2 separate regions of the Homo sapiens genome follow, and region 2 is linked to region 1. Evidence: promoter capture Hi-C in 16 types of primary human blood cells and fetal thymus (Javierre and others, 2016). All regions are on one chromosome and are shown on one strand. The core of a region is centred on a gene start or on the middle of the fragment in contact, and the rest is flanking DNA. Distances in the headings are between cores, read along the strand shown. Region 1 holds the start of KLHL30 (kelch like family member 30). Region 2 holds the start of RBM44 (RNA binding motif protein 44).

Region 1 (5,790 bases), core at 1,304-3,803:
ATGACATCTTCGTATCTGAGATGGAAGCCCCCCATTGCTCTGCTGTTTACATGTTTTTGTCTGCTGTACTAGTGACCTAGTGCTGCATAGTCAACTGCCTGAAATCCAATGTCCTTGAACAGCACACACGCATGGTCACACGCATCGTCTCTCAGTTTCTCCTCGGGAGCACGTGTGTGGGGTGGCTGCACCTCAGGATGTCTCAGGAGGGTCCCATGAAGTGCTCAGCCCAACTGCAGTCATCGGAAGCCTGGCCTGGGGCGGGAGGGTCTGCGGGCTGGGACTATAGGTGTGCACCGCCACTACTCCTGGCTAATTGTTGTGTTTTTAGTAGAGATGGGGTTTCACTATGTCGGCCAGGCTGATCTCAAACTCCTGACCTCAGGTGATCCACCCGCCTCAGCCTCCCAAAGTGCTGGGATTACAGGCATGAGCCACCATGCCCGGCAGAAATTCAAAATCTTCAAGTGCTGATCCCATCAGAAACGCCCACAATATAACAAGGTGTGAGGAAAGGGCGCTGACCCACACACGCAGGCAGGCTCATTTTGACAACAGGAAAGAGCTGGAAGCATACTAATGGCAAATGATCTTTTACTAATGACACTTTCTGCTTTTTATTTTTCTGTTTTCCAAAAGGAACTTGTGTTATTTTTATCCTCATAAAAAGAAACAAGTGGTGTATTTTTAAAAACTGCGCCACTCAGTAGCAATCTCTTGATGGAGGATCTGTTTTGCGCCCCCGGTGTTGAGTTTCCCAGACTGACCTGTCATCTGAGGTGCTGGGGCTCCGAGCCCCACGACGGCTGCTGTGAGGCCTCCACACTTGGCAAGCAGTGCTGTTCCCCGAGCAGAGCCAGCTCCCCGTGACAGCAGCCTGTCATCAGAATCCCCTGTCCTCATTTCCTCCAGCCCGAGCCAGGACTGCAAACAAGGGGGACAGTACGGAAACCCAACACTCTAGCGCCCACCCCATAGTGGTCCTGGACACAGCGAGAGTTGGGGTCCTCCATGAGGGTCCCCCACACAACATGAGGCTGATGCCCAAGGCTGGGGAAAAACCCTGGGACAGTGTGGGACACGAGCAGGGGAAAGAGCAGGAGCAGGGGCCAGGCTGGGCTGGGCTACGGCTGGGCTACGGCTGGACTATGGCTGAGCTGGGCTGGGCTATGGCTGGGCTATGGCTGGGCAATAGCTGAGCTGGACTGGGCTATGGCTGGGCTATGGTTGGGCAATAGCTGAGCTGGACTGGGCTATGGCTGGGCTATGGTTGGGCAATAGCTGAGCTGGGCTGGGCTATGGCTGGGCTATGGTTGGGCAATAGCTGAGCTGGGCTGAGCTATGGCTGGGCTATGGCTGGGCCAGGCTGGGCTGTAGAGGAAGCATGGACTCAGGGAATCTCTATGGAAGGTAACCCTAAGGGCACCTTGCAGACTTGGCAGTAATTTGTAGGTGAGCTTCCCCTCCATAGGCTGTGTGCATCTCAGGACCAGGAGTGGGGTTCTGTCTCCCTGGGGGCCGCCTGGACCTCTCTGGTCTGTAAGAGCATTAGGACAATCCCTAGTAGCATCAAGAGGCCACAGCCAGACCCAATACTCCCCAGTTCCTCCAGGTCGCAGCACACCTGGAAATGGTCATACTGCTCAGGCCCACATGGCCGATGGGTAGAGGGCTGAGGGCTGAGGGCTTCTCTCCCATGCACCTGAAGTCCCTCAGCCACAAAGCTCTGCTCTGGTCACTGGTGTGAGAAATGTCCAGTGGCCTCTTGGGTCCCCAACTCAACCCACCTGACCTTGGTCAGGGCCTGTGGTTCTGAGCCCATTTCAGTCCCAGGCGTGAGAGCTTCCCCCTGCGACTACCGTGAACCAAGTGCTGGACGGGAGGCTGATAGTCCACTGCTGTATTTTTAGGTGACCCTGTTTCTTAGCCGTCCTGGGCAGCCCCGAGGCCAAGGCCATGGGGTAGCAGGGCAAGGAGCCCCAAGATCTCCCCTATCCACGCTAGCTGGGCGGGGCAACTGAGTGTGGCACCTCCCCTCTCTGGGCAAAGTTTCCCTACCGCCACCATGGACCCCAAGCTCGGAAAGCCTCTGCTGACCAACCTGTGCTTATTCATGATAATCACGTTTTCCCACGTGACAACAGAACAAGAGGACACATAGGTGCCGCTGACATCAACAGCGAGGGCAGCACCTGTCGGTGTCCTGGCCCTGGGCTGAGGGTCTCTGTGACCCCAGGCCCCCACCACGGGCTCCACTGTACTCAACTTGTAGACGAGGAAACAGGTGGGGAAGCTGCATCCCTGCCCCCACCAGCCAGCCCAACCGCGACAGCTTTCACCTGTCCTTGCCCTGGAGCCCTTCCTGATGTCTGTCCTAGGCCACAAGTCCCTGGAAGGCCTCAGTGGGCTTTCTGAGCTAACAGTCACCAAGGAGCCGGCATCTCACTCCTTCCCCCACCAGCCCAGCCCTCACTGCCTGACCCTCCCCTCGCCCTGCAGACAGAGGCTAAAAATACCCTCCCCACGTGGCCACCAGACCAGCCCTGCCCCGCCCTGCAGGCCTCCGTGTCCCCTGGCTGCCGGCTAGGCAGTCCTGCTCTCTCGGGTCTGTGTTCTCAGCTTCGAGGTCCAGGCTGAGTGAGAGGTAGGATCCAGGGGGCTCTGGGGCAGGGGACAGCAGAGAGGGCAGGGGGAACCCAGCCAGGAGCAGCGGGGAGGGTGGGTTAGGCCCCCGAGGCCAGGGATCACAGCAGGGTGCTTTGGAGACGCCCCCTGGCCCTTGCCAGCGGCCAAGCCAGGCTCCTCAGGGTGGGGGCTCAGGAGACAGGTTTCCCTCCATGTCCCAGCCGGAGAGGTGGGAGGGGGAGGCTGGGCCACCCCTCAGATGGCAGCCAGGGCCACTCAGCCACAGTCGCCAGCCTGGCTGGGCTCAGGCCTTTTGTTGTCCTGCCCACTCGGCTTCCTCACTCCGGGCCTGGGCAGGCACTGGGGTGAGGCTCTGAGACCCTCAGGAAGCCCCGACCCATGCAGGGACTGCAGGGTGACAGGTGTCAGCAGGCACCCCGAGGCCCCCAGGGGAAGTGGGGGCGCTCATGCGTGCCTGCCCATCGCCCGGCAGCAGCTGGCCCAAGGGAGCACAACAATGACGGGAATGTGAGGCCTGCAGGCGGTGGCCCAGGGACAGCCCTGTCACCTACTCAGGCCCCAGCTCATCTCCCGGCTGCCCAGGGAGGGCAGAGCCGCCTTCACCGGGGCCAGCGCCTCCTGGGGAGGGGCCAGGCAGGAACCCCATGCATGCAGTGTTGGGTGGGTACTTCGTGTACCGGCCGGGATGCTGGGGTGTGGGGCCCCGGCCACGTGAGCTGCCCTGTGCGCGAGCCCGGGTTGGTCCGCGAGGCCCTGTGGGCTCCCAGGTGCTTCCCCGCTCTGGGGTCAAGAGGTGGCACCGGGGTCGGGAAGTCGGGGAGCCCTAGCTCCCATCGCCTGCACCTGTACCTGCACCGTGGCTGCCCGGGCCAGATTCTTGGCCTCCTGGTTCTCCAGCTGAGCTTTGTCATTTCCATGCGTGGCGTTCCCACGCATTTTGTACCTGTGGACGCGCGGCCGCCTCTCCTGCCCGGGATGGCCCCGCGAGGCGCCCCCTAGCGGGCGAACGGCCTCTCCGCTGCGCAGCCTTTCGCCCTGGGGTGACCCGGGTCGAAGGCTTGTGCACAGACTTGATCTCTCCTAGGGATGGTTGTCTTAGGGTGCGATACCAGAAGGACATAAACCACATGCACATAATTACATGAGCCTGAAAGCGGCCTTGCTGACTTCAACCATGCGGGCGTGGTGACGCGAAACCCTCCAGAACGCTGCCTTTGGCTGGCCGTTTCTGTTTAGCAGCCTCCACCCGGCCACGTGGAATGCAGGGTTCAGAGCCTGGGCCCCCAAGCCTAGCTCTGAGTTCAAATTCCAGCTCCACCACTTCCTAAATGTGTGATCTTGGGCAAGTGACTGAAACCTTCTGTGCCTCAGTCTCCCCAGCTGTAAAAGAGGCAATGATTGCACCCACCCTCCAGGACTGTTGTGGGGCTGAGTGGTGAATGCACAGCTTCTCTGCATGCTTGGCACGTGGCCTGGCACCTGGGAGCACCGCGGGAGCAGGAGCTGCTGCAGCCCCCAAATGGCCTCCCCAGCAATGTGGGATCTGGGACGGAGGACGCCTCCCGGGAGTTTGGGTGTCTCCGGGGTCCCTGGGGGGTGGGCTCAGTGTAGCCCAGGGTTGCAGATGACACCCAGGGCATGGGTTCTTTTGCCAACCCTGTTCTGCCCTGAATGCCTGGCCATGGGTAGGTCTCCCACCCTCTCTGAACCTCAATTTCCTCACTGCAAATGGGAATGACACCTGCCCTACCTTGCAGGGTTCTGGGGGTGGCTTGAGGCAGATGGGGGGTAAAGTGACTGGCATATGGTCGATGCCCATCCTGTGTTTATCAAGGGGTGGAAAGGGCTGATGGACAGACCGGGTGGGTTGCTCAGGAGGATGAGACCATCCCCACTTGGCTGACCCTGCTCTCTTCTCTCCTAGGAGCTCGGGCGGCTCCAGGCACTTCTTCCCTTGAGTGGGTGGACTACTGAGGTCCCCTGGGCACGGCGTCATGGTGCGGAACGTGGATGACCTGGATTTCCACCTGCCCTCGCATGCCCAGGACATGCTGGATGGCCTGCAGCGCCTGCGCTCTCAGCCCAAGCTGGCCGACGTCACACTGCTGGTGGGCGGCCGGGAGCTGCCATGCCACCGCGGCCTCCTGGCGCTCAGCAGCCCCTACTTCCATGCCATGTTTGCGGGTGACTTCGCCGAGAGCTTCTCTGCGCGCGTGGAGCTGCGGGACGTGGAGCCCGCCGTGGTGGGACAACTGGTGGACTTCGTGTACACAGGCCGGCTGACCATCACGCAGGGCAACGTGGAGGCGCTGACACGCACGGCTGCGCGCCTGCACTTCCCCTCGGTGCAGAAGGTCTGCGGCCGCTACCTGCAGCAGCAACTGGATGCCGCCAACTGCCTGGGCATCTGTGAGTTCGGGGAGCAGCAAGGGCTGCTGGGCGTGGCTGCCAAGGCCTGGGCCTTCCTGCGAGAGAACTTTGAGGCTGTGGCACGTGAGGACGAGTTCCTGCAGCTTCCCCGAGAGCGGCTGGTCACTTGTCTGGCCGGCGACCTGCTGCAGGTACAGCCGGAGCAAAGCCGACTCGAGGCCCTGATGCGCTGGGTGCGCCATGACCCGCAGGCCCGGGCCGCCCACCTGCCCGAGCTGCTCAGCCTAGTGCACCTGGACGCCGTGCCCAGGCCCTGCGTGCAGCAACTGCTGGCCTCAGAGCCCCTGATCCAGGAGTCAGAGGCATGCCGGGCAGCCCTGTCCCAGGGCCATGATGGGGTGAGTGAGCGGCTGGGAGGCCCCATCCCTGGGAAGCAGGGAGGAGAGCCCCAGAGACCCCACCTGAGTAGGGACAGAGTAAGGAGTGGACATTCCAAGGTGCACTCTGACCTTGCCACGCTCCTTGTTTTGGGCCAGTTCCCCATGAGGACATCACTATTCAGCCCTCAAGTGCAGATCATGCCTCTGTGTGTGTCACGCCCTGTGTGCAAGGGGCAGGGGAATGTGGAAGTGGTAAGATCTGGCCCTGTCCTGAAGGAGCCTGCAGCTCAGTGGGACAAGCCTGGAAACAGACCTCAGGCAGTGTGGAAGGGCCAAATACATGCCTAGGACGCATTCTGGGTGGGCTGGCAGTCAAGGAGGGCTCTCTGGAGGA
Region 2 (5,790 bases), core at 2,334-4,833, 340 kb before region 1:
ATGGTGGCTTACGCTTGTAATCCCAGCACTTTGGGAGGCCAAAGCGGGCAGATCACTTGAGGTCAGGAGTTCGAGACTAGCCTGGCCAACATGGCAAAACCCCATCTCTAAAAAATGGTAGCTGGGTGCGGTAGTGCAAAACTGTAATCCCAGCTACTCGGGAGGCTGAGGCAGGAGAATGGCTTGAACCCAGGAGACGGAGGTTGCAGTGAGCCGAGATCGTGCCACTGCACTCCAGCCTGGGTGACAGAGTGAGACCATGTCTAAAAACAAAAACAAAAACAACAGAAAATACTATTGTACGAATATGTTTATTCTGAACTTGAGCTGGAGTAAGCATCTCTAATATCACTGAAAATAAATGACAAAGAGACGGATGGATTTCTTTTTTTTTTTTTTTTGAGACGGAGTCTCGCTCTGTCGCCCAGGCTGGAGTGCAGTGGCACGGTCTCGGCTCACTGCAAGCTCCGCCTCCCGAGTTCACGCCATTCTCCTGCCTCAGCCTCCCGAGTAGCTGGGATTACAGGCGCCCGCCACCACGCCCGGCTAATTTTTTGTATTTTTTAGTAGAGACGGGGTTTCACCATGTTAGCCAGGATGCTCTCAATCTCCTGACCTCGTGACCCACCCGCCTCAGCCTCCCAAAGTGCTGGGATTACAGGCGTGAGCCACCCCGCCCAGCCAAGAGACTGATGGATTTCATAAAAATGTAAAATTTCACATCAAAACAATATAATCCCCAAATCAATTACGTAAGTCCAAACGTGGCAGAGCTGCCTGGCAGAAAAGGCAGAACCACTAGCTCCATACACAGACACAGGAAACTCTGACCAAGAAGAGCAAGGGTCCCATGCCCTAGGGCCAATGGGGAGTATCTGGAGACAGTGTCAAAAAAAACTCAAAGAGGCCAGGCGCGGTGGCTCAAGCCAGTAATCCCAGCACTTTGGGAGGCCGAAGCGGGTGGATCACTTGAGGTCAGGAGTTCGAGACCAGCCTGGCCAACATGGTGGAACCCCCATCTCCACTAAAAATACAAAAATTAGCTGAGCGTGGTGGCAGGCACCTGTAATCCCAGCTACTGGAAGGCTGAGGCAGGAGAATCGCTTGAACTGGGGAGGTGGAGGCTGCATTGATCCGAGATTGTGCCACTGCACTCCAGCCTGGGCAACAGAACAAGGCTGTCTCGAAAACAAAACAAAACAAAACAAAACACCTCAAAGGGCCCAGAGGAAGGCAAAACAAGGACACTGGATCCCACAGTTAAACAAAAACAGCTGAGGTCACTTAAGTGGGAATGTTTCTTCCCCTTGCCGTAGCAGGAGGCTTGGTGTGTCTCATGCAAACAGCCCATTTGCCCTTCAACCCGCCTCCCTGCCAACAACCGGCAGCCCCTCCTGCCACCTGCTCAGTGGCTTGCCTGTAAGCACAGCATCACTGTCCGGCACAGCTTACCTTTTCTGTAGCCTGGTGACACATGTGATGTCTGTGCTCAGCCCATCCACTCATAACACAACATTTCATCTCTATTCCCTGAATCCCAATAATCCTCCCTAAGGATGGCATGATCACTGTCTTCGATGGTTTAAAAGGTTGATAAATGAAAGATTTGACTCTTTCTGTGTTGTACCCACCCACAGGGTGGAGAGGAGACTAACAGTGAAATGAGCATTTGGCAAATGGCTGTTCAGAGAGGAATTTCTCAAAATTCTAACTGTGGTGGAGCAGTCAAAGGAGAAACGCCAAGGGTCTAGAGTAGAACGTGGTTTCCAGCTGTCTTGACATCAGGGCTGCTGGCCCACAGACACACTTCCAGAGCCACCCCTTCCAGGGTCACCATGGCCCAGTCCTGCTCCAGATGCCATCTGCCCAGCAGCCCAGGGGAGAGTGTCCAGCCTTCTAATGTGAGCCTCAATCTGAACCCCTTTCTATAACAGAGGCCAGACCTCATAATCTCATCAGCAGCTCTGGCCTGCTGCTGCCGTGGCCGCCCTCTCCAGCCACTGGCGTTAACTTCCAATAACATAGGGACTTCTAAATGAAATCCACTGTAAAAGGACAGGCCATATCACTTTAAAAGACACTTGAAAGCACTTTTGGTAATGGCAAGATTTGCGATAAGTGTATTACATTATCCCAAGATCCATGCTCACGGTCCACTGTCCACCACTGCACCCTCAGCCCCTGGCCCCTGGCAGGCCAATAGCAATCTGCAGAATGAATGAATGAATGAATGAATGAAGTGCATTTCAGAGACTGCAGCCTCATTTGAGGGGATAATTTGGGGGTAGGTGCAGTTTTAGAGCCCCTCCTCTATCTGCCACCTATCCAAAGTCCTCCGTGGCCCAACAATCAAGTGCATGTTTAGACTAATAAGCAAATGAAGCCACCTGCAGCTCTATCCTGTCCCCACCCCTTCAGGACTGTGTCATTTTATACAGGTTTAAATTCCCTATCAAGGATAAGACTAGGCACAAAACATGGGGGGCAGGGGAGGGGATGCAAAAACTCAGTAATCTTTTAATGCAATCTTTTAAAAAATCGAAATTAATGCAAAAAATCCATAATAAAATATTCAAATTTAATTTAATTTAATTTATTTATTTTGAGACGGAGTCTTGCTCTGTCATCATCCAGGCTGGAGTGCAACAGGGTGATCTCAGCTCACTGCAACCTCCGCCTCCTGGATCCAAGCGACTCTCCTGCCTCAGCCTCCCGAGTAGCTGGGATCACAGGCGTCCACGACCACACCTGCCCGGCTATTTTTTGTGTTTTTAGTAGAGACGAGGTTTCGCCATGTTGGCCAGGCTGGTTTCGAACTCCTGACCTCAGGTGATCCACCTGCCTTGGCCTCCTAAACTGCTGGGATTACAGGCGTGAGCCACCGCGCCCAGCCCAGAATATTCAAATTTTAAATAAAGACAGGACCAGTAACAATGTACCCTGTGGAGCCATTTTAAGAGTCTGAGGCGAAAGGAAAAAATAGGACTGAATTTTTTCATTACTTTTGACTTTTTTTAGAGACTGCATTAAAATATTATTTATCTTGATTGCTATTTTGGCAGCCTCTGAAATCCTGTGCTCATGACAAATGCCTCACTGGCCTCACCCTAGTCGCGGCCCGACCCTGCTAACGGTATTTCTAGAAGATGGGCAGAGGACAAGCCAAACCCCGGGAGGGACCACGCGGCCTGGGAAACAGTTCGGCAAGGAGGCCGGGCCCCTGTCCCGCCTCTGAGGGCGGAGGACTCGGCCTGCACCGGACCCAAGCGAGGGGCAGTCTGGCCTCTGCTGGCAGAAGCAGCGCTTCCAAGTATTTTCATATGGTGACTTTGCAGAGCTGCGCGGTCCAGACGAGGGTTTCAGGCTGCAAAGCGGGAAAGTCTTGGGGGCCGCTCTGCGCTCCAAGACAGACGCCCACAATCTCTTCTACGTCGTGCAACATTCAAGCAGGCGGCCTCCTTCCCGCGCTTTCGCGCCCACAGGCTGGGCCAATCACAGTGCCGCACTTTTCATACTGCCCGACAGGCGGTGGGCGGGCCGCTGGTGACTGTTACCCAACAGGCGCCGCGGCTGCTCCGGTGGCGCCACTGACTCGGAGGCGGCTGCGGAGAGCGGGGCGCTGGCCCGTGGAGGCGGCAGCGGCGGCGGCTTTCTAGCGGATCCGAGGTGCGACGGACAGAGACGCGGGGCGGCAGGTCGGGCGGCGAAGCCGGCGAGGGCGAGGCCATGGGCTTGAGCGGTCGGGGTTGGCGAACCCCGCGTGTGGCCGGTCCCGGCGGCGAGGCCCGTCCCGCTGAAGCACGCGGGGACTCCGAACGGCGGTGTAGGCGAGGCCAGCGAGGCGGGCGGGGGACTGGCGCGTTCCTTGGGCGGCACTGGAGTTCCGGCGCCCTCATAGCGGGCGCCGACACCGCAAAAGTCGTTCTCGAACGAAGTCGCGGGGCCGGTCTCCCAAACTTGGTTATGTCCCCGGGGAAAGCTAGAAATTCGCACATATGCTTCTTCTTGCCGTGGAGACTGATGGAGCCTCTGCTGCGGGGCGGGGACTCTAGCGAGAGGGGGACGTGAAGTTCGTTCCGTACTCAGGCGTGTGTGCCCCTGACCGACGCGTAGGACGCCCTGGAGGACGGCGCCAGCTCCTGACCTAGTGTGAGGTGCCCGGACGGTTTCCCTAAGAAGCGCGTATTTAAGATGAGATCTGAAGTTGAGCGTGAACTCAAGGTGGGGTAGGGGGTGGGCAGGCGAGAGAACGCACAGGGCCTGACTTTTTGCATTTTTTTAGTAGAGACGGGGTTTCAACGTGTTAGCCGGGATGGTCTCGATCTCGGTCTCTATCTCCTGACCTCGTGATCATCCCGCCTCAGCCTTCCAGAGTGCTGGGATTACAGGCGTGAGCCACCGCGCCCGGCCAGGGCCTGACTTTTTAAGGAAATGGAAAGGAGGGTGTATCTGGAAGACACCAAGTGCCAAGGCTAACACAGAGCCCGGACCGTTGTAGGGTTTTACAGGACTTATTCAGATTTTAATCTGTCTGAAAACAGTGACAGTCCGTTGCTGAGTTTTAAGCAGGAGCGTAACTGATTCGATAAGCATTTTAGAAAGATTATTCTGGCCAGATGTGAGGTGATTGTCTGCATAGCTGTGAGAGTCAGGAGTTAAAATTGACAAGACCTCAGGGATAAGGGAGGTGTCAAGGGCGAGTCCTGTGGTTTCTGGCGATACCATTCCCTGGAGTTTCGTGCACTGGAGGAAATAGTTCGGTAAGTGAGAACTCAAAGAAAATAATAAAAATGGGCATGTACCTAGGAGTGGAATTGCTGGATCATGTGGTTGTCTTGTGTTTAACTTTCTGAGGAAGTGCCAGACTTCTCCAGAGTGGCTGCACCATGTTACATTCCCATCGGCAATGGATGAAGGTTCTGATTTCTCCATGACCTGCTCAACACTGTTGTTACTGTTATTGTTATTGTCATCCTAGTGGGTGTGAAGTGATATCTTTTGGTTTTGATTTGCATTTCCTTCATGACTCTTGATAAATTGAGCATATTTTCATGTGTTTATTGGCCATTTGTATATCCTCTTTGTCAAGTCATTTGCTCATTCTTAATATTGGGTTGTTTGCCTTTTTATTGTTCAGTTGTAAGAGTTTTTTCTATATTCTAGATAATAGACCTCTATCGCATACATGATCTGCAAGTACTTCCGTTATACTAAAATTTTCTCTTTGGCAAACGTTTTTAACTTTGGGTGTCTTCATATTTAAGAATGAAGCTTGCAGCACACTGCAGATTTCATTAAATGCAGATTTGAGTGTAGAATCAGATGTGAATGAGAATCCAGCTTGAGATAGTGTTGCTCTTCTCACCAATTTTTTGAAAATATGTTTTTAATTTAAAATTTTACTTAAGTAACGAATGTATTTTCTATGAATAAATTAATAAATATTTGAAAATGTTGCTTTAATTTCTAATATGGTAAGTATTGATGGATATTACCCAAATAAAAAAAAATACTCCTTGGGACTCTCAATCCTTTTTTTTTTTTTTTTGAGGCGGAGTTTCACTCTTGTTTCCCAGGCTCGAGTGCAATGGCATGATCTCGGCTCACTGCAACCTCCGCCTCCCAGGTTCAAGTGATTCTCCTGGCTCAGCCTCCTGAGTAGCTGGGATTACAGGCACCCACTACCACGCCCACTCTATTTTTAGTAGAGACGGGTTTTCACCGTGTTGGCCAGGCTAGTCTCAAACTCCTGACCTCAAGTAATCCACCCACCTCGGCCTCCCAAAGTGT

The links. Contacts are between HindIII fragments. The CHiCAGO score rates a contact against its expected background, and 5 or more counts as called.
Region 2: the fragment with the promoter of RBM44 here is called in contact with the fragment with the promoter of KLHL30 in region 1 in 1 of 17 cell types (erythroblasts); the score reaches 5.1 in erythroblasts.

The regions. Positions count from the first base shown.
Region 1 is chr2:238,136,115-238,141,904 of GRCh38, forward strand. KLHL30 (kelch like family member 30) reads left to right here and starts at 2,554. Exons shown (of 8, transcript NM_198582.4): 1 at 2,554-2,644; 2 at 4,571-5,414. The coding sequence starts at 4,641. RefSeq lists an enhancer at 4,810-5,323. The HindIII fragment of the contact is 29,351 bases long and covers 1-5,790 here.
Region 2 is chr2:237,795,196-237,800,985 of GRCh38, forward strand. It overlaps RBM44 (RNA binding motif protein 44), which reads left to right and starts at 3,584. Exons shown (of 16, transcript NM_001080504.3): 1 at 3,584-3,666. The HindIII fragment of the contact is 5,628 bases long and covers 1-5,269 here.